4 separate regions of the Homo sapiens genome follow, and all the other regions are linked to region 2. Evidence: promoter capture Hi-C in human tissues and cell types (Jung and others, 2019). All regions are on one chromosome and are shown on one strand. The core of a region is centred on a gene start or on the middle of the fragment in contact, and the rest is flanking DNA. Distances in the headings are between cores, read along the strand shown. Region 1 holds the start of TRPM2 (transient receptor potential cation channel subfamily M member 2). Region 2 holds the start of ITGB2 (integrin subunit beta 2). Region 3 overlaps CFAP410 (cilia and flagella associated protein 410). Region 4 overlaps COL18A1 (collagen type XVIII alpha 1 chain).

Region 1 (6,137 bases), core at 739-3,238, 570 kb before region 2:
TGGATGGGCCCTTGGAAGGTCGTTGCCAGGCCTGGGTTTTCAGGGTTCTGCACCCCTGGGCTGAGGCTGAGGCACCCGTCCTGTTGGGCACTGGGTCGAGCCATTGGCCCCCCCACAGCGGGCATCAGATGCTCACAGGGGCTCCTGGCTGCCTCCTGCAAAGTCGGGTGGTGCTGGAGCAGGTCTGACCTGCTTCCCAGGGCCTGCTTGCCTCTGGGATTAGAGGAACCTGCACAAGACCCCAGGGGCTGTGCTGAGGTGGACAGCTGCCTGAAAGATGAGCGTGTGAACAGAACATGCTGGTCTTAAGGCAGAGAGTCCCACACCGTGGACCCTCCCGTCTGATGCTGGGGTCTTCGTTTCCAGCGTGGAGCCATCCTCATCCCGTGCAGGGTGGACCGCCTGCCTGGGGAGCCACCTGCAGTCTGGGTCCCCTTGCGGTGCCACTGCGATCTCTCTAGAGCCTCCTCTTCCTCCTGCCACTGGGGACATCTCTGCCCCTCTGCTTCCCTCGGAAGCTGGTTGTGAAGCCGGGCCAGTGGCTGCGGGGACAGCTCATGGCCCTGGAAAGACCCCACTGGCATGCGGCACAACATCTGCTCTGAGAACTGCAGGAAAAGGCCGGGCAGGGCACCCCTGCCATCCTGCCAGTGAAGTTTACGGGTCTCGGAATGAGTGTGGCCAAGGGGCAAAGGGGAGGAGGGAGAGGGGGAGGTGGGGTTGCCTGAGAGTGCCCGCCCCAGGACAGCAGCCCGTAGCTCAGCCCCAAGAGCCCGGCACCGAGCTTCGAGCTGCGTGGCCCCGAAGAGGGGCTCAGTCACCTAATGTGATGAGGGGACGGCAGAGCAAAGGCTTGTCTGACAGTGACCGTCGTGTGTAGTGGAGAGGACGTGGCCAGAGATCTGGTTTCAGGGCAGGGATGAGGGGGGATTCCAGTCAGATCTTTTGCATCCCAGCAACCCTCCCCTTGACACCTTTGGGGCAGTGGCAGGGGATGACCATGGATGACCTCATGAGAACACTGTGGGTGTCAGGGACTCAGGGAGGCCCCGCAGGGCTTGAACATGCTTATGTTTCTCATTTGTAAAGGGAGGGCAGTCATCCGGTGGCTTCTTGTGGCCTCGGTGATGAAGGCCACATCAGAGCCAGGGGGAAAGGATATGAGAGAAAAAGATTCATTTGAATTATTGTCTTTTTCCTGGAGTGGAGAGATGTGGTACTCCCCAAAACTTCCTTTCTAGGCTGGGCACAGTGGCTCACGCCTGTAAAACCAGCACTTTGGGAAGCGGAGGCTGGTGGATCGCCTGAGGTCAGGAGTTTGAGACCAACCTGACCAACATGGTGAAACCCTGTTGCTACTACATACAAAAAAAATTAGCAGGGTGTGGTGATTGGCGCCCATAATCCCAGCTACTGGGGAGGCTAAGGCAGGAGAATCACTTGAACCAGGGAGACCGAGGTTGCAGTGAGCCGAGACTGCGTCACTGAACTCCAGCCTGAGCGACAAAGTGGGACTCCGTCTCAAAAAACAAGAAGAAAAAGAAACTTCCTTTGTGGACAGTGAGGGCTATTTAAAAAAATTTTGGAATATGAAAGTAGTCACTGGTGTCTGGAAGCAGGAGCTGTGCAGAATTGTACAGTTGCGAAACCATGTCGCTGGCAGCTGGTGCTGGCGGTGGAGACTTCCCTGTGCGGTGCTCAGTGCAGCTGCACCCGTGGGGGAGGGAGCTCTTTCTCTGGCCCTGCAGTCACCTGAGGTTGTTACCATTATGAACGGCCGCTGGGACCCCCGCATGTGCATGTACTCCCCCAGAGTGTCCGGGGGCCCCAGCCAAGGGACACAGCTCAGGCAGCTGGGAACATGTGCAGGCTGATGAAGAGAACCGGATGAGGGCTTCACATGAGGAAGCATGTGGCCAGGTCCTCTCAGAACATCAGCCTCATCTTCCTGTCTCTGATCTATTTCAGCAACCACCCCATGTGTCTCTAGAACCCCAGTGTAGCGAGCTGGAGAGAGGACTGTCCTGAGGGCAGCAGGCCTGGTTGCAGCTGGCGTGGGGGTCTCAGAATGGAGCCCTCAGCCCTGAGGAAAGCTGGCTCGGAGCAGGAGGAGGGCTTTGAGGGGCTGCCCAGAAGGGTCACTGACCTGGGGATGGTCTCCAATCTCCGGCGCAGCAACAGCAGCCTCTTCAAGAGCTGGAGGCTACAGTGCCCCTTCGGCAACAATGACAAGGTAGGCTTTCTGCTGGTCAGCCTGCAGTTGGCACGTGGCCACGGAGGTCACCGTTGGGCAGGTCATAGCTTGAGGCTGTGACGACGGGGGTGGGAAAGGGTCTGCTGACCTTGGGGGCTCCTGCCCAACCATACCTTTGGGAGAACAGAACTGGGGAGGGTGATGCGTGTCTCGTCTTCTGTGGGTTGCATGACCATTTCCCATGGTTGGTCTGATTGGGAAATCACCGGGTTAACTCAAAAATGTTGCGCTAGAGTCCTGGAAATCTGTTACCCGTGCTTACCTTGTTGCATAATGATTTCACATCCTTTATCCGATTGGGAGGGCCTGGGCCTGGGCTAGCTTTCCCCAAAGCCCTGGATACAAAGACACAAGTATGTTGAAAGCACATGGCATCTTGCAGTCCCCTTGCCAGGCAGGCAGGAGGGTGGCTGCCCTTTTTCCGATGGTGCAAGATCCAGGTCCCCAGATCCCCAGCCTCCACGTTTTCCACCACACCATGTTGTTCCCAAGGAAGGTGGTGGTGCTGTAGAAACTGTAAAGTGCGCGCACATTCAAAATGGTCCCAAGAGGAAATGATTTCTTAGATTCATTCCTCCCTCCTGAATCCCCACCGGAGAGTCTTGGCAAGGTGCTTCTAATCTTTGGCTCAGGGTCGCGCAGGCTTCCTTCCTTCAAGCAAATAGTGTGAAAGCTCCTCAAGGAGCTCAGATGTGTCTCCAGGGGGCTGGGTGTGCTCTTTCGAATGTTGGAAGATCTCAGTGTGCTGTCTTTACCTTCAGCAAGAAAGCCTCAGTTCGTGGATTCCTGAAAACATCAAGAAGAAAGAATGCGTGTATTTTGTGGAAAGTTCCAAACTGTCTGATGCTGGGTAAGTGACGTGATTTGTGTGTAAGACCTCTGACTTCTTCCTTCCGATCCCACATGGAGTAGCTGATCAGGCCAAGACCCCTCAGGGCCTCAGTGAAGGGTCACTGGAGATACCTCTGTCTCCATACGAGGCTTAGAGTCCACAGAGCATTTCCACCTAACCCTTGCAAGCCTCCTGTCGGGGACAGTTGACCCTCATCCTGCCTCGCAGGTGCAGGGACCAAAGTGCAGAGTTTAGGTGACTTGTTCAGGGTCATAAGGGCACTGTCGCGCGGCGAGGCCCAGTGGTGTGAACACAGATGCATCCTCTAATCCTCTCATTTCCACACCTGCCCCCACCCCAAGAGAGAGAGTCCCAGGGTCCAGGAACTGGAAGGGCCTTAGGGAGAGTCCATGGCCAGAAGACTGCCCCCCTGCACAGCTTGCCAAAGCCAGAGGCCCGACTTGCCCCCAGGCCCCACAGAGCCCCCTTTGCCCCTCCTCCCCACAGAGCCCACGACTCAGGTGTGGCCAAGACCCCCGCCCAGGCAACATGGCCACTGTCTCTGAGTGGCTGGATATGGCCCTCCGGAGCCGATGGTGCTCCCCGCAGTTGGCGCCCCTTTAGGCACGGACAGAGTGTTGATTCATGTTTGTGTGCCCTCCCCGAGCAACACCCATTTCATGCTCTTCCACAAATGGGCCACACGCTTCCTCCTTTTACTCCATTGCCTGGTGAGCTCCTACTTATCCCTCAAGGCCTATTGCAGATGCTGCCTCTGCCGTGCAGCCTTCCGTGACTATACAACCTCTACCAGGAAGTGAGCTTCCCTCCTACCGCACCGTGTGTTTCTCTTTGATCCCAGCTGTCGTGCTGTAACTGTGTGGCTTTGTGTTCATCTTTCTTGCTAGCTGCTGAGCTTCTGGGGGGCTGGGACGAAAGCAGAGTGTTGTGTTAATTCCCAGAGAGTGGCCTTCAGCTCATATTTACTGAATATGGGGAGGGAGAAGCATCCTGTGCTTGGGAAATAGAAGAAGACTGTGTTGCCCCAGGGTACCTCTAGTGTACTCGGTACATCATCAGAGTTTCACGGTCACCAATACAACAGCTGTCCCTCCGCATCCCTGGGGAATTGTTCCCGGACACCCACGGACACCAAAATCCCATATCTCGTATCAGTCCCAAAATCTCATATCAAGTCACTGATATGAGATGGTGTGGTATTTGCATATAAACTATGTACATCCTTCAGCATACTTTAAATCATCTCTAGATTACTTATAATACCTGATACAATGTAGATGTTATAAAAATAGTTATACTGCATTTAAAAAATTTGTATTTTTGGGCCGGGCGCGGTGGCTCACGCCTGTAATCCCAGCACTTTGGGAGGCCGAGGCAGGTGATCCACCCGCCTCGGCCTCCCAAAGTGCTGGGATTACAGGCGTGAGCCACTGCATCTGGCTATGTTATTTTTAATTGTTTTTTTTTTCCTGAATATTTTTAGTCTGCGTTTGGCTGAATCTGCAGATGCAAAACTCGCGGCCATGGAGGGCTGGATGTAGAGACAGTGATGAAGAGCCCCATGTGGAAGGAGCGGGGTCTGTAGAGCAGTGGTACTCCAGCCTCGGAGCTCACCCTTGTTACTGGAAAGGGGTCCCGATCCAGACCCCAAGGGCGGGTTCTTGGATCTCACACGAGAAAGTATTTGGAGCGAGTCCACAGAGTAAAGTGAAAGCAAGTTATTAACAATGTAAAGGAATAAAAGAATGGCTTCTCCATAGGCAGAGCAGCCCTGAGGGCTGCTGCTTGGCTATTTTTTTTTTTTTTTTTTGAGACGGGGTCTCGCTCTGTCGCCCAGGCTGGAGTGCAATGGCATGATCTTGGCTCGCTGCAACCTTCGTCTCCCAGGTTCATGCGATTCACCATGTTGGCCAGGCTGGTCTGGAACTCCTGACCTCAGGTGATCCACCAGCCTTGGCCTCCCAAAGTGCTGGGATTTCAGGCATAAGCCACCGTGCTTGGCTGGTTGGCTATTTTTATGGTAGTTTTGGATCATGTGCTTAACAAGGGTGGATTATTCATGAGTTTTATGGGAAAGGAGCGGGGATTTCCCAGAACTGATTTCCTCTTTCTTTCAGACCATACAGGGTATTTCTGATGTTGCCATGGCATCTGCCAACTGTCATGGTGCTGGTGGGAGTGTCTCTTACATGTTAATATGTTATAATTAGCGTGTAATGGGCAGCGAGGATAACCAGAGCCCACTTTCGTCGCCATCTTGGTTTTGGTGGGTTTTACCCAGTGTCTTGCACCCTGTTTTATCAGCAGGGTCTTTGTGACCTGTGTCTTCTGCTGACCTCTTGTCTCATCCTGTGACTTAGAATGCCTTAACCGTCTGGGAAGGCAGCCCAGCAGGTTTCAGCCTCATTTCACCCAGCGCCTATTCAAGATGGGACTCACTCTGGTTTGAACGCCGCTGACACCCTGACCTGCTGTGTCCTGAGAAGCCTAGGTGAGGCCCCGTGGGTCTGGGGCCTCTGCCAGTCGGCTCTGCGTGCTTCTCACATGGAAGTGGAAACCCTTGGGGCAGCAGGGCCCAGAGAGGAAGGGGTGCTGACCTGGATCAGATGTAAGCAGGACAGACTTGCTTCTGGAGGTCCCCAAAGCCATCCCCCATGCTCAGGGGTTTGCTAGGACTCACAGCTGTGCACACAGCTAAGGTTTATCATGGTGAAGGCCTACGTGATGGGCTTGGCAAGGGAGAAAGACACAGGCCGAGTCTGGAGAATCTGAGGGCAGGCTGCTGCGGCTCTCCTGTGCAGGCGCCATGCATGCTCCTTCCTCTAGCCGAGAAGCACGTGGCCACCTGCAAAGCCCATTCGAGGCTCAGAGCCCAGGGCGTGCATCCTGCGCTGGCCACGTGGGCCCCTCTGCATGGCAACCACCCAAATCCCAGACTCCCAGCAGGAAAGCAGCTGTTCAGCACAAACCCATTGCAGGAACAGTCCAGGCCCGGCAAAGCACTCCTAGCAGTCAGGGGACGGAGAGACG
Region 2 (5,990 bases), core at 10-2,509:
GACAGCGAGTGTCCCCTATGCCCCCACAGCTCGCTCCCAGGCTGAGCTCTCCGGCCATCCCCCCCCTTCCCCATTGCAGCCATGCCACCCCTCCTTCTCCCCACCCAGGAACTGACAGAGGAGAGGGGCCCCGGATGGACAGGGACAGCAGGGCAGAATCCCAGCTCCCAGATCCAGGGGAGGGGGGATTGGGTGTGGGGACGGTGGTGCAAGGGGTGGTGCCAGGGGTGGAGGATGCATGGGGAGGGCTGGCCCCAAGAGTGCAGTGTTGGGGGAAGGGGGCCAGGTGGGCCTGGGACCCAGGGGCGTGGCTTCAATCCCCCTCCCACCAGGACCTTGGGAATGGCCTCCAGGAGCCTGTTGTGGGGAGGCCAGGGTCACCAGCTGAACCAACTCGACCAGAATCGCACAGCGGTGCCCGCTCCCCTACAGCAAGACGTCACCCAGGGGTCCCCACGGAGGAGGCAGGGAAGCTCGAGGGTCCCAGAGGAGCATGGAGCATGTGCCACACCACACCACACTACATTACACATGTGCACCATACATGTACATACAACAGACTCCCCACATCACATGCGCACACTCGCACACCATACATGCACACACACACACCACACTACGCTATGCCACACACGTGCACCATACATGCACACCATGCCACACTACACACACGACACTACACACCACGAACCACACCACACCATATCACACACCACACACTGCGAGTCGATCTGGAGATGGAATCGCTGTAGCCAGGCGGGGCAGCATGCAGACAGGAGGGCCTAACACAGGCAGGCGCAGCAGGTTCACAGAGGAGGCCCCGGGAACCTGCCTCCTGCCCAGCCCGGAGCACCAGGACCCCCCAGCCGTCCCCCTAGGGGCTTGTGGGCCCAGCCTCTTCCTGGCCTTGCCGGCCTCACAGCCCCTTGTCCTCCCATGCCGGCCCCATCCTCAGCCGCAAGCGCTCCCAGCACACCATGTGGCTCTGCTCTTGGTGGCAGGCACTTCCCCTTGCCGGGTCTCAAAGGGGACCCTGGAGCAGACGGTCTGGAGACCCCTTCCTGCCAGACACCCCTGGGCCGGGGCTATAAGCAGGGCCACCAGGGTCACTCCAGGCTGGGGCAGGAGAGTGCTTCCCTCCAAAAATCACCGTGGACATAGCGGGGCCTCTGCACACTCACCCTCGGTGTGCTGGAGTCCTCGGCGGTGCTCCTGGCTGGGCGTGGGGGCTTTGCTACCAGTCTGCCCTGGGTCACGTCTAGAAACCTCAGCTGGAGGCGCGGGTCGTAAAGTCCTGACACTTCCTGTTCCTCTCAGCTCCTCCTTGGAGGAAGTGGTGGGTTGCACCACCGTGGCCCTTCACCCCTGCCCCTCTCCGCTCTACAGCAGCTCTGATGTCAGAGAGCGGCCCCTTGAGACAGGTGGGACATGTCATTTCTCACATGAGGTCCCGGCGAGAAGGACCTGCTTCCATCAGATTCACACTTGGGAGAGGGGCCCGGCCTCCAGGAGCGCCAGGCAGAAAGGGCACCCATTAGGAAGAAGAACACAGAGGCCATGGGAGTGAAAAGTTTGATGCTGGAAAGCAACAGTAGCACATTCTGCTACAGAGCGGAATGAAAAACCCTGGGGAGCAAATTCCTGAGCCAGAGAATGGAGCGGAGGAACCAGCCAAGGAGGATAAAGAGGTGGGAACAGGCAAGAAAACCTGGGTGCGTGCACGCATTGACATCCACCTGCATGTGAGGGCGGGAGGGGACAGAACAGGGACAGCGAGGAGGAGACACTCAGGTCACAGGAGGAAGGCTGCGGATCTGGGCGGGGACGTGGATTGCGAGGCCACTGAACACCCCAGGGATGGATGGATGAGGTCCTGTTAACTAGGGACATTAGGAGGATACCACAGAACACGAAAGGGAAAATACTACAGGCTCAGAGAGAGAGAGAAGGGAGAGGAGGAGGAGGAGGAAGAGGAGGGAAAGAGATTATACCTAGAAAAAAAACCCAAATCAGACATCTTCAGAGCAAGGACTCAGACACATTACTACCCTAAACTCTGTTTTATTTATTTATTTATTTTTATGTTTTCAGTTTTTTTTGAGACAGAGTTTTGCTTTTGTCACCCAGGCTGGAGTGCAGTGGCGTGATCTCAGCTCACTGCAACCTCTGCCTCCCGGGTTCAAGCAATTCTCCTGCCTCAGCCTCCCAAGTAGCTGGGATTACAGGCACATGTACCACCACGCCTGGGTAATTTTTGTATTCTTAGTAGAGACAGGGTTTCACTATGTTGACCAGGCTGGTCTTGAACTCCTGGCTTCAAGTGATCCATCCACCTCTGCCTTCCAAAGTGCTGGGATTACTGGCGTGAGCCATGGCTCCCGGCTCCTAAACTCTGTTTTAAAGATGTCTTGCAGAAATAGACATGAAGAAATCCATGAGAAATACAAGAGCAGATGATACAAAGTTGGGCAAAGAAATAAGTAAAAATTATGATGTCATAACCTGTTGATTTAAAAAATAGTGGTAAGAATATTAACGCTGTGAAACAAAACGCCTAGAGGACTGGGTTGGGAGGGGCCAGGGAGCACATTGCCGTTCCATCCTATCTGGGGAGGAATATAGATGCTTGTCAGTGGGCATTTTGATAGAAAATATCTAAGTATATATGCTAACAATTCAAGAGTCTCCTTAAGAATAAAAATAGCATGTATATACCTGAAAAAAAATATGACAAATCTTTATTTTGGGCATGGTGGCTCAAACTTGTAATCCCAGCACTTTGGGAGGCCGAGGTGGGAGGATCACTTGAGCCCAGGAGTTCGAGACCAGCCTAGGCAACATTTGGAGACCCAGACCCTCATCTCTACAAAAAAATTTTCTAAGAATTCGCCAGGCATGGTAGCACGCGATATGGTCCAGGCTACTTGGGAGGCTGAGGTGGGAGAATTGCTTGAGCCCAAGAGGTTGAGGCTACGGTGAACCATGCTTACACCACTGCACTCCAGTCTGGGTAACTGAGAAAAAAAAAAAAAAAAAAAGGCAAATCCTTTAAAAGAAAAAAGTAAGGGAAAATAGAACAAACAAGAAAGGTAAATAAAAACCAAACAATAAAACATTGGGAATAATTTCAAACCCATCAGGAATCACAGCACCTGTGAATGGGTTACATTTTCTTGTTTTAAATCAACAAGGTCTTGCGTTGGGTTTTAGAAATAAAGAGACAAAACAAGTTCCAATGAAATGTTCTCTGTCAAGGGTATCTTCTCATTACAGACTTAGCCTAGAAAATAATGAAGAAGGACAGAAAGAGAATACCATTCTACTACACCCGCTGATGACTTAAAGTAAGCAATGACCCTCGCTGCGAACGTCACGGACGCAGCAGACGTTATGCACACACCTTTAATGAATTAGTCTTGATGAAATAACAATAGAAATCAAGAAAAATAGAAAGAACAAATGTTACTATTGAGCCTGAATCAGGTCGAACTTTTTAGATCTACAAAGAAGCATCAGGAGGGTGTGTTAGATGACATCGTAGGGATGCAATTAGCAAAATCCAGGCTGAAGAAACCCTCACAAGGCAAACAGCACAGTACAAGAGGAGAGACGAAGGGAGAGAGACCCTTTAGATTAAGAGATTTAATCTCTTAATAGAACCAATTGCAATGCATGGACCATATTTTAAAATCATTGTTAATTGTTTTAAGTGTGACAATGGTTTGTGGTTATGTTAAAAAGTCCCCATCTTTTAGAGTTACATGTTGAAATATTTGCAGATGGTGCAGTATAATGTTTCAGATTTATTTCCCAATAAAGAGGGGTGGGTTGGGTTGGGGGAGAGTCGGGAGAGGTGTTGATACAACAAGATCACCTGTGAGTTGATTATTTTTGAAGCCACTGTTGGGGACATGGGGCTTCACTAATCTATTCTCTCTACTTCTGTAGATGTGTGAAATTTTTTGTAGTAAGATTAAAAAAACATTTCAAGGAAGTGTAAAGTTATTATTTCGCGGGTATAAAGTTCCCGTTTTGCAAGATGAAATGGTTTTGGAGAAGTTGGTGGTGATGGTTGCACAGTACTAAGTGTCCTTAATGCCACGGAAATGCATAACTTCAAATGGTTAAAATGGTGAATTTATGTTATGTATATTTTATCACAATTAAAAAGTAAAAAGTGTAAGAAAGGCTCTCTATCAGATAAACTGTTAAAAGAGAACACTGAAGGCTGAAAATAAAGAAACGGAAAATACACGTATGTGCTAGAAAATACTAACGAAGATATCGTGTAACATCAAAAAGATAGAAATCAAAGCAAAATGCATCAAATGGACAAAGGAAGATGTAGCCAATGAGAGTCAGAATCCACAGACAGTTCAGCAGCCATAATCCTTTGTGTGCCGAACTTCAAAATATATAAAACAAAGACTGACAAATATATAAGCAAACTGACACAGCCCCAAACAGCAAATATCTCTAACAGATCTCTCTCAGAAATAAACACATCAGGCCAGTCGCGGTGGCTCACACCTGCAATCCCAGCACTTTGGGAGGCTGATGTGAGCGGATCACCTGAGGTTAGGAGTTCAAGACCAGCCTGGCCAACATGGCAAAACCCTGTCTCTACTAAAAATACAAAAATTAGCTGGGCATGGTGGCGCATGCCTGTAATCCCAGCTACTTGGGAGGCTGAGGCAGGAGAATCACTCAAACCTAGGAGGCAGAGGTTGCAGTGAGCCGAGATTGTGCCACTGCATTCCAGCCTGGGTGATGAGAAGGAAACTCTTACTCAAAAACAAAAACAACAACAAACAAACAAGAAAAAATCAAATAGAAATGCAAATTTGGCAGGTAGAGAATTTGAGGAACGTAACCATTCGTCTCCAACTTAAACACAATTATGTTACAAAGTGGGACAATGATAAACACATAATTACTAGACCACAAGGGAAATAACCACATATTCTAAAGCACAAAGACCATAAGGAGGCCAAATTCACGGACACAATTGAATGAAATTAGATGCTGTCCAAAGGATGGCATGAAAGAAAAAAAACAGCACTCCTGAAAAGTGGACCCAAATATAGCCTAGATCACATACATCCATGGTGCCACACTCACGCTACGGGGTAATGAATAAGAGCCCTTGAAGTGCTGCTCTGAAGCCTCGTGACCCACAGATCCGTAACACTGAGATTCTTCTGAAAAGCAAAATGTAGAAGGAGGCATTGAAGAATAACATGCACCTCGTCCCTGCAGACCCACACACCCCTAGAGCAGGACAGTGGTTACCCCTGAAGACAGAGAAGGCTACGGGCCTGGGAGATGGAAGCAGAGGGCTTCAAAGTTCTATTGTAGAGTTTTCTTTACTAAAAAGGAAGAAAAAGTTCTGGGCAAGTCAGGCAACATGTTAAGATTTGGTAAGATGAGAGGTAGCTGTTTGGGGATTGGTACTAGTGCTCTCCATGCTGTTCTGTATTCTTAAAATAGTTTATATCTTTTTTTTTTTTTTAAAGGAGCTAGGAGGAAGTGACTGCAAATGAGCAGAAGGATCTTTCAGGGGGTGGAAATGCTCTGAAATTAGATTGTGGTGATGATTGCACAATTCCGTAAATTTTCTTTTTGTTGCTGTTGTTTCTTTCTTTCTTTTTTTAATAGAGACTAGGTCTCGCTACGTTGCCAAGGCTATGGTGAGCCAAGATCACACCACTGCACTCCAGCCTGGGTGACAGAGTAAGATCCTGTCAGAAAGAAAGAAAGGAAGAAGGAAGGGAGGGAGGGAGGGAAGGAAGGAAGGAAGGAAGGAAGGAAGGAAGGAAGGAAGGAAGGAAGGAAGGAAGGAAAAAGAAAAGAAAAAATAAAAACTGAACTCACATGAGAACCACAGCCCACAAGAGGCAGGTCTGGACTTGTGGTCTAACCCTAACCAGACTGACTGCTAGCAAAACAAAAAGATCATTGTTGTCCAGAGGATTTTAGTAGAATCCAGA
Region 3 (3,853 bases), core at 548-3,047, 590 kb before region 2:
ACCCTGTCTGCGGGTCGCATCCAAGCAAAGGAGGGGCTCATACAAATCCCACCTGGCACACGGGGGCAAGAGAAGGGAGGCAACTCCTGGGAGGTCAGGGGCTACAGATGGCAGCTCCTGGAGAGCCCGGCACTTACTTCACCTGTGGGGCGCCCTCCCGGCACCCTGGGGCTCCCCAGCTGTAACACCTTCCACCCAGGGCTTCAGGGGCAGGGTGGGGGGCACCCGAACACACAAATGCCGGGGGAGAGCTCCTGACCATGGGGTCAGGCCCTGTGCCGGATGGCAGATGCCTAACAGAGATCACATCCCGATGCCCCCACCACAGGCACCAGCAGCGGGTGTGATCTGCCAAGCAGGAGAGAAGTGCCCAGCTTCTGTCAAATGCGTTCGTGACCCGCTGCCAACTGCCCTGGGAGGCGCCGGCGTCTCACTGCAGAGTCAGCCCTGTGGCCCCTCCACGGCCCCCAGGCCCAAGGCCATACGGGCACTGATGGCCGTGCCCACAAACCATTCCAGTCACTGTGGCCCTAGGCCACCCCCCCCACCAGGGGCTCCCTGCACCTCACGAGCTCTGGTGCTGTGAGCCTTCTCTGTGCCAGGGCACGGGGCCTGGCTCACCCCCTCTCCTGCTCCCTGGCACATCCGCTGTTGGGCAAAACATGGACCTGCCACTGAAATCACTACCTGGGCACTGAGTCACTCCCAGAGAATATGGATGAGAACAGACACTCCCCCCGGATAATCCCTGTCCCTCACTTCCCAGAGACGCAGCTCACGGGAAGCCCCATTCACTCCCCGTGGGAGGACCCTGGGGGACAGGGATGGGCTGCGGAGTCCCCGCTGCCCTCCAGCCTCACGTTGCCTCCTCCTCGCTGTCCAGCGGGTCCCGGCCAGTCTCAGCAGCGGAGCTGAGGGAGCTCAGTGTGCAGCATAGCTTGGGGCCGCCGTGGCCTGTGCCCTCTCTCTCTGGGGCCGCAGTGATCTCCTCTCCCTCACTCAGTGCACGGGACAGCTCCTCCTCCGTCACAGCTTTGGGATGAAAGACAGAAGACAGCATGAGTGGCCTCACCCACGTGCAGGCCACATGCACTGCAGCTCCCGTCCTCACTGTGGCTTCAGGCACAGTCTGCTTGTGAAATGCATGCACGTGTATCCACCTCCAGGGACAACTCCCAGAGTAGCAGCCGGTTCCTCACTGTCCCATCCCCAGCCTGGCACAGGCTGACACACAACAGATGGTGGAGGGCTGCTCAGGAATCTCAACACCAGCCTTGGCCAGAAGCAAATACTCCTCAAAACCTCAACTAAGACACAATAGAAAAAGGAACAGACCATATTGAATTTATTCCATTTCTCTCATATATCAATTTCCCTGAAGTTTATATTATTAATATCAATAAAATTGTCTGGGAGAAAATAGTGGTGTCTGTATACCTGACAAGGATGAGACACTAGTGTGCTGAGAATGCCAAGGATGAACAAACAGCATGAAACCACAGCCTGGAAAACTGTGTCGGTGCTGGCGCTGGCTAGAGGAGGCACGAGTGCCTCCAATAGGTGGAGCGCAGCAGCAGGCACTGCGGTGCTGGGACGGCCCCTCCCCACGGCAGGGGCGCGATGGCACCGCCACCCTAGGTTCACAGTGGCCCGTGGAGCCTGCCCAGTCCCTGTGGACCAGTGCGATGCTGCTTGCCAGATACTGACGCCCCCGCTCGCCATGGCGCATGGCGATGGTCAGAGCAGGGCTGCTACTCACAGAAGCAAAAGAAGGAACCCTTTTGCTTTGCTACCAGGTCCTGCGGTCGTTGGGGGATACCCAAACTGTCAGTCCCAGGAGGGACCCTACGCTGCGCTGCTGCATTCGGGTGGCGGGATCAAGAGGAGACACAGAAGCCAGGGGAACAGCCTCTGGAGGAGACTTCACAGGACACATCTATGTCCCGCCAGACCAGGTATTTGCAGAAAAGGAGAAGAGAAAAGAGGGCTGGGGACATCCCCTTCCAGGGATTGTTTTGGGAGGGCCGGTGACTCCGCTGCGGCCACCTACCCTGGTTGTCCAGCTTCTGTAGGCGCGGCAGGGTGCGCAGCACGGTCATGCGGTAGCGGTGGGGGCTGGTGCCGCAGCACGGGTTCTCGGCCAGCCACAGCACCCGCAGACGCGGCAGCCCCTTCAGGTAGAAGAGCTCAGCCAGGCTGGGGATGCGGTTCCTCCGCAGGTACAGCTCACTCAGGCGCTGGCACCGGCTCACAGGCTCCAGGGTGGAGATGCTGTTGACACTGCACGGAGACCAGCACAGTCAGCGAGGGACGTGGCCAGGGCCCCCAGGGCCACCTCTCAATCCCCACCCCCAGTAAAAGGCACTCATGGGACCTGTGTCCCTGCCCTCTCCTGAGAAGCCTAAATCGGATGTCACAAGTCACGTGCAGCAGGACCTGGGCCGAGGAGAGAGCTGTAGGAAGGCCAGGCCCTGAACTCAAAGGCGGACTGGGGTGGACCCCACCAGCAACAGCCCCTTGGCCCGACGCTCCACATCAGCTCCTCAGGGCGCTAGAGTGCGGGAGGTGGGGGATGTGGCCCTCCTTCACAGGTGAGGAAAATTAAGGCCTCTCAGGGGACATATCATGTTGCCCCAAAGCAGGGAGCGGCCAGAAAAACTCATGGCAAAAACTAGGAGCCAGCTCCACGTGACATGGGAGTGAGCACGGACCTTCCAAACCCCCACTTGAGGGCGGCAACACTGGGGATGGGCCTCATTTCCATTCTACAGAACGTGGACGCGTCAGAGAAGAGAAACAGCAGGCCTGGAGCGGGGACCTGCAGGCTTTACCCTGCAGCGTGGGGTCCGTCCCCTCCACAAGCGAACACGCGGAGCCGCTCCCGCAGGCCCTCAAAGGCGCGGAGCCAGGGCCCCCTGCCTGGAGGGCTGCACTCGCGTCCGGCAGGCGCCTCAGAAGGGCGGTCACCAGGCCCCCATGGGCAGCCTGCCGTCCTGAGCCCCCCTCCCCATGCCATCCCTTCACTCGGGGTTTCCCAGGTCTCATGCAGCTCCTAGCTATGAGGCCGCCCCATTTTACCAAGAGCAAAACTCCGGCTGTGGGACTCTTTCCAGGATGGGGTCTGCCTCAGGCACAGGCAGCAGCGTGATGTACCGACCGCGTCCGCGGCCTCGAGGCTTCCTGCTCCGCTCCAGTGCAGTCAGGCGTGCAGGCACCACGCACCTGAGCTCGGTCAACACCCCTGGGGTCCTGTCCCTCCCGAGATGTGACAGAAATGGCCCCACACACGAGCGGCCTGATGCTCGGAGGCCCTGTGGCCCCTGGGTGACTCAGTGAGCGGCAGGGATAGGGCTGGATCCACAGCCCCGCCCCAAGCTTCCTGCCACCGTGGGAACCACAAGCTCCACGTTTCCCTGTCAGGTAAGCCTTTCGGAGGCAGGCCTGAAATCCCAGCCTCACTGTGTCGCCTGACTAGTGAAACGAGCCCCGCGGCAGGCACGCGCACCCCCCCTCAACCTCTGGGCGGGCACGCGCACCCCCCCCCCCCCCCCGCTCAACCTCTGGGCGGGCACGCGCACCCCTGCTCAACCTCTGGACTCGGGCTCCATCTCCTCCTCATCTCCCTGTGGGGTGGGCACTTGTAATACCTCCATGTTACAGAAAGGAAACTGAGGCACAGAGAGGGCCATGCCTCGCCCAAGGTTAGCCAGCCAATAGATGGGAGGGCTGAGATTTGACCCATGAGCATGCCTCCAAGCCCATTTCATTCATTCAGCAAGGCTCGGGCAGGACAGGCTGGTGCCCGCGCTGGGGATGCCTGAACACCAGATGGACTGGCCTCAGCCCATGGCGG
Region 4 (5,525 bases), core at 250-2,749, 540 kb after region 2:
CCCCTGAGGGGAGGGGAGCTGGAGGGGTCCTGCTGCCTCCTGCCCGGCTCCATCTCCAGCGCCCCCTCCACCTCGTCCTGGGCACTGCCCTGTGTGTCCACCCCGCCGGCCCACCTCGAGGAGAGTGTGGGGGACAGTGCAGCCGTGCTGGGGCGTGGGGGGCGCTCAAAGGGAGGGTGAACCCTGTGGTCAGCACACAAGCAGGGACCCTGTGGAGGGTTTTGCTGTGTTGTGGGCTTGTCCCTCAGGTCCACGAGGAAGGGAGTGAGGCCCCCTCACACGGGAGGGCCGGGGTGGGGTAGGGAGGCTCCCTTGCTGCAGCTGCCAAGAGTGAGCGAGCGGGGCTTGGGCTTGGGCTGCCCGGGACACTGCCTCCAGGAAGCCCCCTGGGCTGTCTCAGTGGGACTCTGTGAGTGACACATGGAGCTCAGGTCACAAGGGCTGTGGGAGTGTCACCCCACAACAGCAACGGGTGCCTGGCCCTCTGGACTTTGCTCTCTACACCCCTCCTGAGCTCTCACAAACCCTGGCCCCTGGGACCGGAGGCAGGTGATGTTTCCAAGGAGTCCTACAGGCAAGCATCCTCTGACCTGGGAGCTGCGTATTGTTCCCGTTTACAGGTGAGAAACTGAGGCCTAGGAAGGACAGACACGTGTGCGTGCCGCAAGTGTGGCTAGCAAGGAGGGAGCCTGGAGGAGGGCCCAGCAGCCTGGCCCCAGAGCGCTCTTCAGCATCGCAGCAGATGCAGGACAAGCAAGCTCCCAGCCGGGGAGCACCAGGAGACCAGCAGGCATCCACCCTCGTGGTGCAGGCCATCTGATGAGGGCAGGGACCAGTGCCGGGATGGATAGTGCCTGTGCACAGAGTGGGGCGCAACTGGGCACAGCTGCCACCGGGGTGCTCGGGAGGCAGGTCCACACACACGCCGGCCAAGTCGCTCATCTCAAATGCACGAGTCCCGTGATCTTGGAAAGTGGTGCACAGGCCCCTGGGCTGGGGCTTCCTCTGCCTCCACCCCCATCACTGGACATTCGGAGGTCAGTGGGAGGCCACGGGAGTGCACGTGAAGGTCATGTCACCATGATGGCCCCGAGGGGCTGCTCCTTCATCGCTCCTCCCTACCCCATGGGCCAGCCACTGGCACACAGGTGTCCTTATATGGTGCTTACCTCTTGCTCCTTTAGTCAAATGCAGAATTTGAGAAAATGTCCCTTCTCCTTAAAATGCTTTGATTTGTTTGATGTTTCCATGTAACTTTGGTTTAAGAAGGGAGAAGACCACTCTGGGAAATAACTCATGCTTATCTCTCACCGCTTGGCAACCTACAAATATTTTTTCGATGATGCTGGCTAAGCTTCTCGTAAATTCTCCATGCCTCTTAGATGCACCAAGAGTGACTCAGCATTTAACTCCTACTGGAGTGTCAAGGGCCCAGTGCATTGGGTGCAGTTGTCTGTGGGTACAAGATCTTGTGTGATTCTGAACTAAGCACAGACAGAATGAAAAGCACAGCACTCCAAACAGGGCTTCCTGCAGGTCCTTTTACGTATATTTGGGTTTTTGTATATATCTAAGGTCAAGCTAGTGGACATCTATCACTTCAACCAGTTACCGTTGTGAGTGTGGTGAGAAAACTTAAGATCTACTCAAGTTTGAAGTGCCATATGCGATACAGTATTCTAGCTGTAATCACCATGTGTACATTAGACCTCTAGAACTTACTTTTCCTGCATAACTGAAACTTTGTACCCTTCGACCAACAGTCACATTTCCTCTTCTCTGTGGGCTGGCCTCGGCTGTGCCCTGTTAGCATTCCCAGATAAACAAAAGCTAAGGGGGTTAATTGCCACTAGACCTTCCCTGCAGGAAATGGTCCAGTAGTCCAACAGGCGAAATGAAAGGACACTACTCAGTAACAGTAAGTCAAGGAGGCCCCCGTTGCCTATGCACAGAGTGGGGTGGCAGCTGTGCCCCATTGCACCCCACTCTGTGCATGGGCACCGTCCATCCGGCACCAGTCCCTACCCCTTATCAGATGGCCTGCACCATTAGGGTGGACACCTGCTGGTCTCCTGGTGCCCCCCTGCAGGGCTCTTCCTTGTCCTGCATCTGCTGCAATGCTGAAGAGCAGTCTGGAGCCAGGCTGCTGGGCCCCCCTCGAGGCTTCCTTGCTAGCCACATCTGTGGCACACACGCATATTTGTCCTTCCTAGACCTCAGCCCCTGACAACCACCATTCTACTCTGCTCCTATGAATGTGACTTTTTTAGATCCCACATGTGAGATCATGCAGTATTTGCTTCTATGCCTGCCTTATTTCCTTTAGTTTAATATCCTCCAGGTTCATTCATAAAAAGTGCAGTTACAAACTGTTGTTGCAATACCAGCTTTTATAATTGCCCATGTATTTACCTTTATTGAGATCTTCATTTCTTCATGTGACTTACTGTTATTGACTAGTGTCCTTTCATTTTACCTGCTGGACTCCCTGGACCATTTTCTGCAGGGCAGGTCTAGTGGCAATTAACTCCCTTAGCTTTTGTTTATCTGGGAATGCCAATTTCTCCCTCACTTTTGAAGGACAGTTTTACTGGATATAGGACTCTTGGTTAACAGTTTTTTTTTTCTTTTAGTACATTGAATATATTGGTCCACTGCCTTTTGGCTTCCAAAGTTTCTGTGACAAATCTGCTGATAATCTTATTAAGAAGCCCTTGGATGTGATCAGTTGCTTTTCTCTTGCTGCTTTCCAGATTCTCTCTCTGTTTTTGAAAGTTTGATGATAATGTAACTTGGTGTGAGTCTCTTTGAGTTTACCTTACTTGGAGTTCCCTGAGCTCTTAACTGTTTATATTCATGTCTCCCAACAAATTTGAGAAGCTTTCAGCCATTATTTCTTCAGATAGTCTCTCTGCACCTTTCTTTTTCTCTTCTGTTTGCAGCTTCCACGGCATGCATGCTTCCTTGTCTCTTGATGGTGGCCACAAGCCCCTTAGGCTCTTTTCACCTTTCTTTCATCTTTTGTCTTTGAAAATTTCCATTATCTTATCTTCAAGCTCATTAATTTATTCTTTTGTCTGCTCAAATCACCTTCAGATTCCTCTAGTGATGTTTTCAATTTCAGCTATTGTACTTTTCAGTTCTGTAATTTCTTTCTGGTTTCTTTCAAGGTTTTTATATTGATATTTCCATGTTGTTCATACATCACTTTCTTGACTTTCTCCACACCTTCCTGTAGTTCTTTGAGCATCTTTAAGACAGTCATTTTAAAGTCTTTGTCTAGTAGATCTGCCATCAGGTCTTTTGCAGAGACAGCTTCTGTTAATTTATTTTTCTCCTTTGAATGTGCTATATTTTCTTATTGCTTTGTGTGCCTTGTGATTTTGTGTTAAAAAGTGAACATTTGAACTCAGTAATGTGGCTCTTGAATTTTGCCCTTCACCAGCGTTCGCTTTTTTTTGTTACTTTTTAAAAAATGTTTTGTGTCTGTGCCAGAAATCTCCCTTAGGTGTGAACTTCAGGTCTTCTCAGGTCTTTTCTGAGCCTGTCCCTTTCCCTGGGTGTGTGCAGCCACTTTCTAATTTTCCTCTTACATGCTGCTGTTTTTCAATGTCCCGTTCTTTCATGTTTGGCTCCCAAAGGAGGAATAAGATAAAAATGAGGGAGAAAAAACAGTGCCAGCCCTCTAAATCCCCTTCAAGTCACTTCAGCTGGAAGGGGCAGCTTGCAACAACAGAGGGAGTGTAAAACAATGGCCCCACCTCCCTGTCTGCACATCTGTGATCCCAGGCAACCTGATCAGAGCACAGGTTCTCGATGTCTGCAGGACAGGGTCCTTTTTGCCGTCCTGTTTCCCACAAGCTGTGTGGCTGCTGCTCCAGGAACTCGTGCATGGCACCTGCTATGGGAATGGGGGTGGAGGATGGATGTGTGGCTGCTATTGTGCCAAGAGCTGGGGTTTAGCTAAATTAACCACCCGTTACCGTCCAAGCCTTCCTGTGGACATTGCAAGCTTTCAGTAGACTCCAGAGTTCCAAAAGAGTTCTAAGACAAATTCTGCCCATGCACTTGTTAATTAGTTGGGGAGATGGATTCCTGGCGCTTTCCATCTGCCATTTACCAGAGTACTCCAGAATCATTTTCAAACACGTTTCTTTCTGTCAAGAAATCAAGTCTTGGCCAGGCATGGTGGCTCACGTCTGTAATCCCAGCACTTTGGGATGCCGAGGCATGCGGATCGCCTGAGGTCGGGAGTTGGAGACCAGCCTGACCAACACGGAGAAACCCCATCTCTACTAACAATACAAAATTAGCTGGGTATGGTGGTGCATGCCTGTAATCCTAGCTACTCGGGATGCTGAGGCAGGAGAACTGCTTGAACCTGGGAGGTGGAGGTTGTGGTGAGCTGAGATTGCACCACTGTACTCCAGCCTGGGCAACAAGAGCGAAACTCCATCTAAAAAAAAAAAAGAAAAGGAAAGAAATCAAGTCTTGAGGCATCATCATTGTTATATCATGTGCAGGTGTCTAGCCTGGATGCCACCCAGCTATGCCAAATGCGGGGAGAAACTCCCTATGGGCACTGTGGCTGGGTCCAGAGCTCAGAGGCTGGAGCTTTGAGAACTGGGCTGGAGCCAAACCATGATGGAAGCCTCTAGCTCTCAGGAAGAGACACACATCTGCGGGGGCAGAGTGACCACATTTCCAGGTTGCCCAGCCCTCGGGAGTAGCACAGTGCCCAGGCACTGGGGCAGAGGTGGATCCCGTAGTCCCTCGGTGGGAGCTCCAAAGCCTCCCGTTTTCATCTCTTCCTCTTCCCAGGATGGGATTTTGGGGATGAGATCTTCCTGGTGGGCTGGAGTCTGTCCCAGAAGTCAACAGCCCAACCTGGGGCCAAAAAAGACCCTCTTAGATAAGGCAGGCCCTCGGCAAGACTCCAGCCACACATGAGAGGGTGGAACAGAGCTCCTGAGTCCCACTAACCACGGCCACCTGCAGTGGTCAGGTGGGGGCACCGTGTCCATCCCCCCATGGGTTTGTGCCAATTTGCATATAGGTATGTAGCTTCCTATTGGCGACTGTAAGAAATTGCCACAAATTCAGTGGCTTAAACCAACACAGCTGTCTTACCTTTCAGTTTTGGAGGTCAGAGTCTGAAACCAGTTCACTGGGCTGAAACCAAGGTGTTGTCAGGGCTGGGTCCCTCTGGGACTCTGGAGGAGAATCTGTTTTCTTGACTTTTCCAGCCTCTAGAGGCTGCCGCTTCCCTTCGCTCAAAGCCCCTTCTTCCCCCTTCAAAGCCAACGGTGTTGGACAAGTCCTCATGGTGCCATCTTTTGTCCTTCGATTTTAAGGCTTTGTGTGGTTAGAAGTGGATCATCTCCCATCTCCAGGTCCACAGCCTGAGTCCCAGCTGCAGCATCCCCTTGCCACGTAAAATTACGCTTGTGGGTTCCAGCTGTTGTGCCGTGGACATCCTTGGGGCCATGGCTCTGCCCACCACAGTTTGTCCATGTGCACGGCTG

Evidence for each region. The method cuts DNA at HindIII sites, captures the fragments that hold promoters and counts their contacts. A contact is called where the count stands out against the background at its distance.
Region 1: the fragment with the promoter of TRPM2 here is called in contact with the fragment with the promoter of ITGB2 in region 2 in 1 of the 25 tissues and cell types used here (spleen).
Region 3: a contact is called between a fragment that was not itself captured here and the fragment with the promoter of ITGB2 in region 2, in 1 of the 25 tissues and cell types used here (spleen).
Region 4: a fragment that was not itself captured here is called in contact with the fragment with the promoter of ITGB2 in region 2 in 3 of the 25 tissues and cell types used here (dorsolateral prefrontal cortex, heart left ventricle and spleen).

What each region holds. Positions count from the first base shown.
Region 1 is chr21:44,351,633-44,357,769 of GRCh38, forward strand. TRPM2 (transient receptor potential cation channel subfamily M member 2) reads left to right here and starts at 1,989. Exons shown (of 32, transcript NM_003307.4): 1 at 1,989-2,233; 2 at 3,016-3,104. The coding sequence starts at 2,069. RefSeq lists enhancers at 2,205-2,254, 2,415-2,464. The HindIII fragment of the contact is 21,861 bases long and covers 1-6,137 here.
Region 2 is chr21:44,919,640-44,925,629 of GRCh38, forward strand. It overlaps ITGB2 (integrin subunit beta 2), which reads right to left and starts at 1,260. Exons shown (of 16, transcript NM_000211.5): 1 at 1,182-1,260. It overlaps ITGB2-AS1 (ITGB2 antisense RNA 1), which reads left to right and starts at 1,396. Exons shown (of 3, transcript NR_038316.1): 1 at 1,396-1,688. The HindIII fragment of the contact is 46,650 bases long and covers 1-5,990 here.
Region 3 is chr21:44,330,983-44,334,835 of GRCh38, forward strand. CFAP410 (cilia and flagella associated protein 410) reads right to left here. Exons shown (of 7, transcript NM_004928.3): 4 at 2,051-2,280; 5 at 861-1,032. Among named protein-coding and RNA genes, the nearest start is that of CFAP410, 6.5 kb to the right of the region's middle. RefSeq lists enhancers at 386-887, 888-1,387. The HindIII fragment of the contact is 7,900 bases long and covers 1-3,853 here.
Region 4 is chr21:45,459,439-45,464,963 of GRCh38, forward strand. All of the region lies in intron 2 of COL18A1 (collagen type XVIII alpha 1 chain), which reads left to right. Among named protein-coding and RNA genes, the nearest start is that of MIR6815, 16 kb to the right of the region's middle. The HindIII fragment of the contact is 3,893 bases long and covers 1-3,446 here.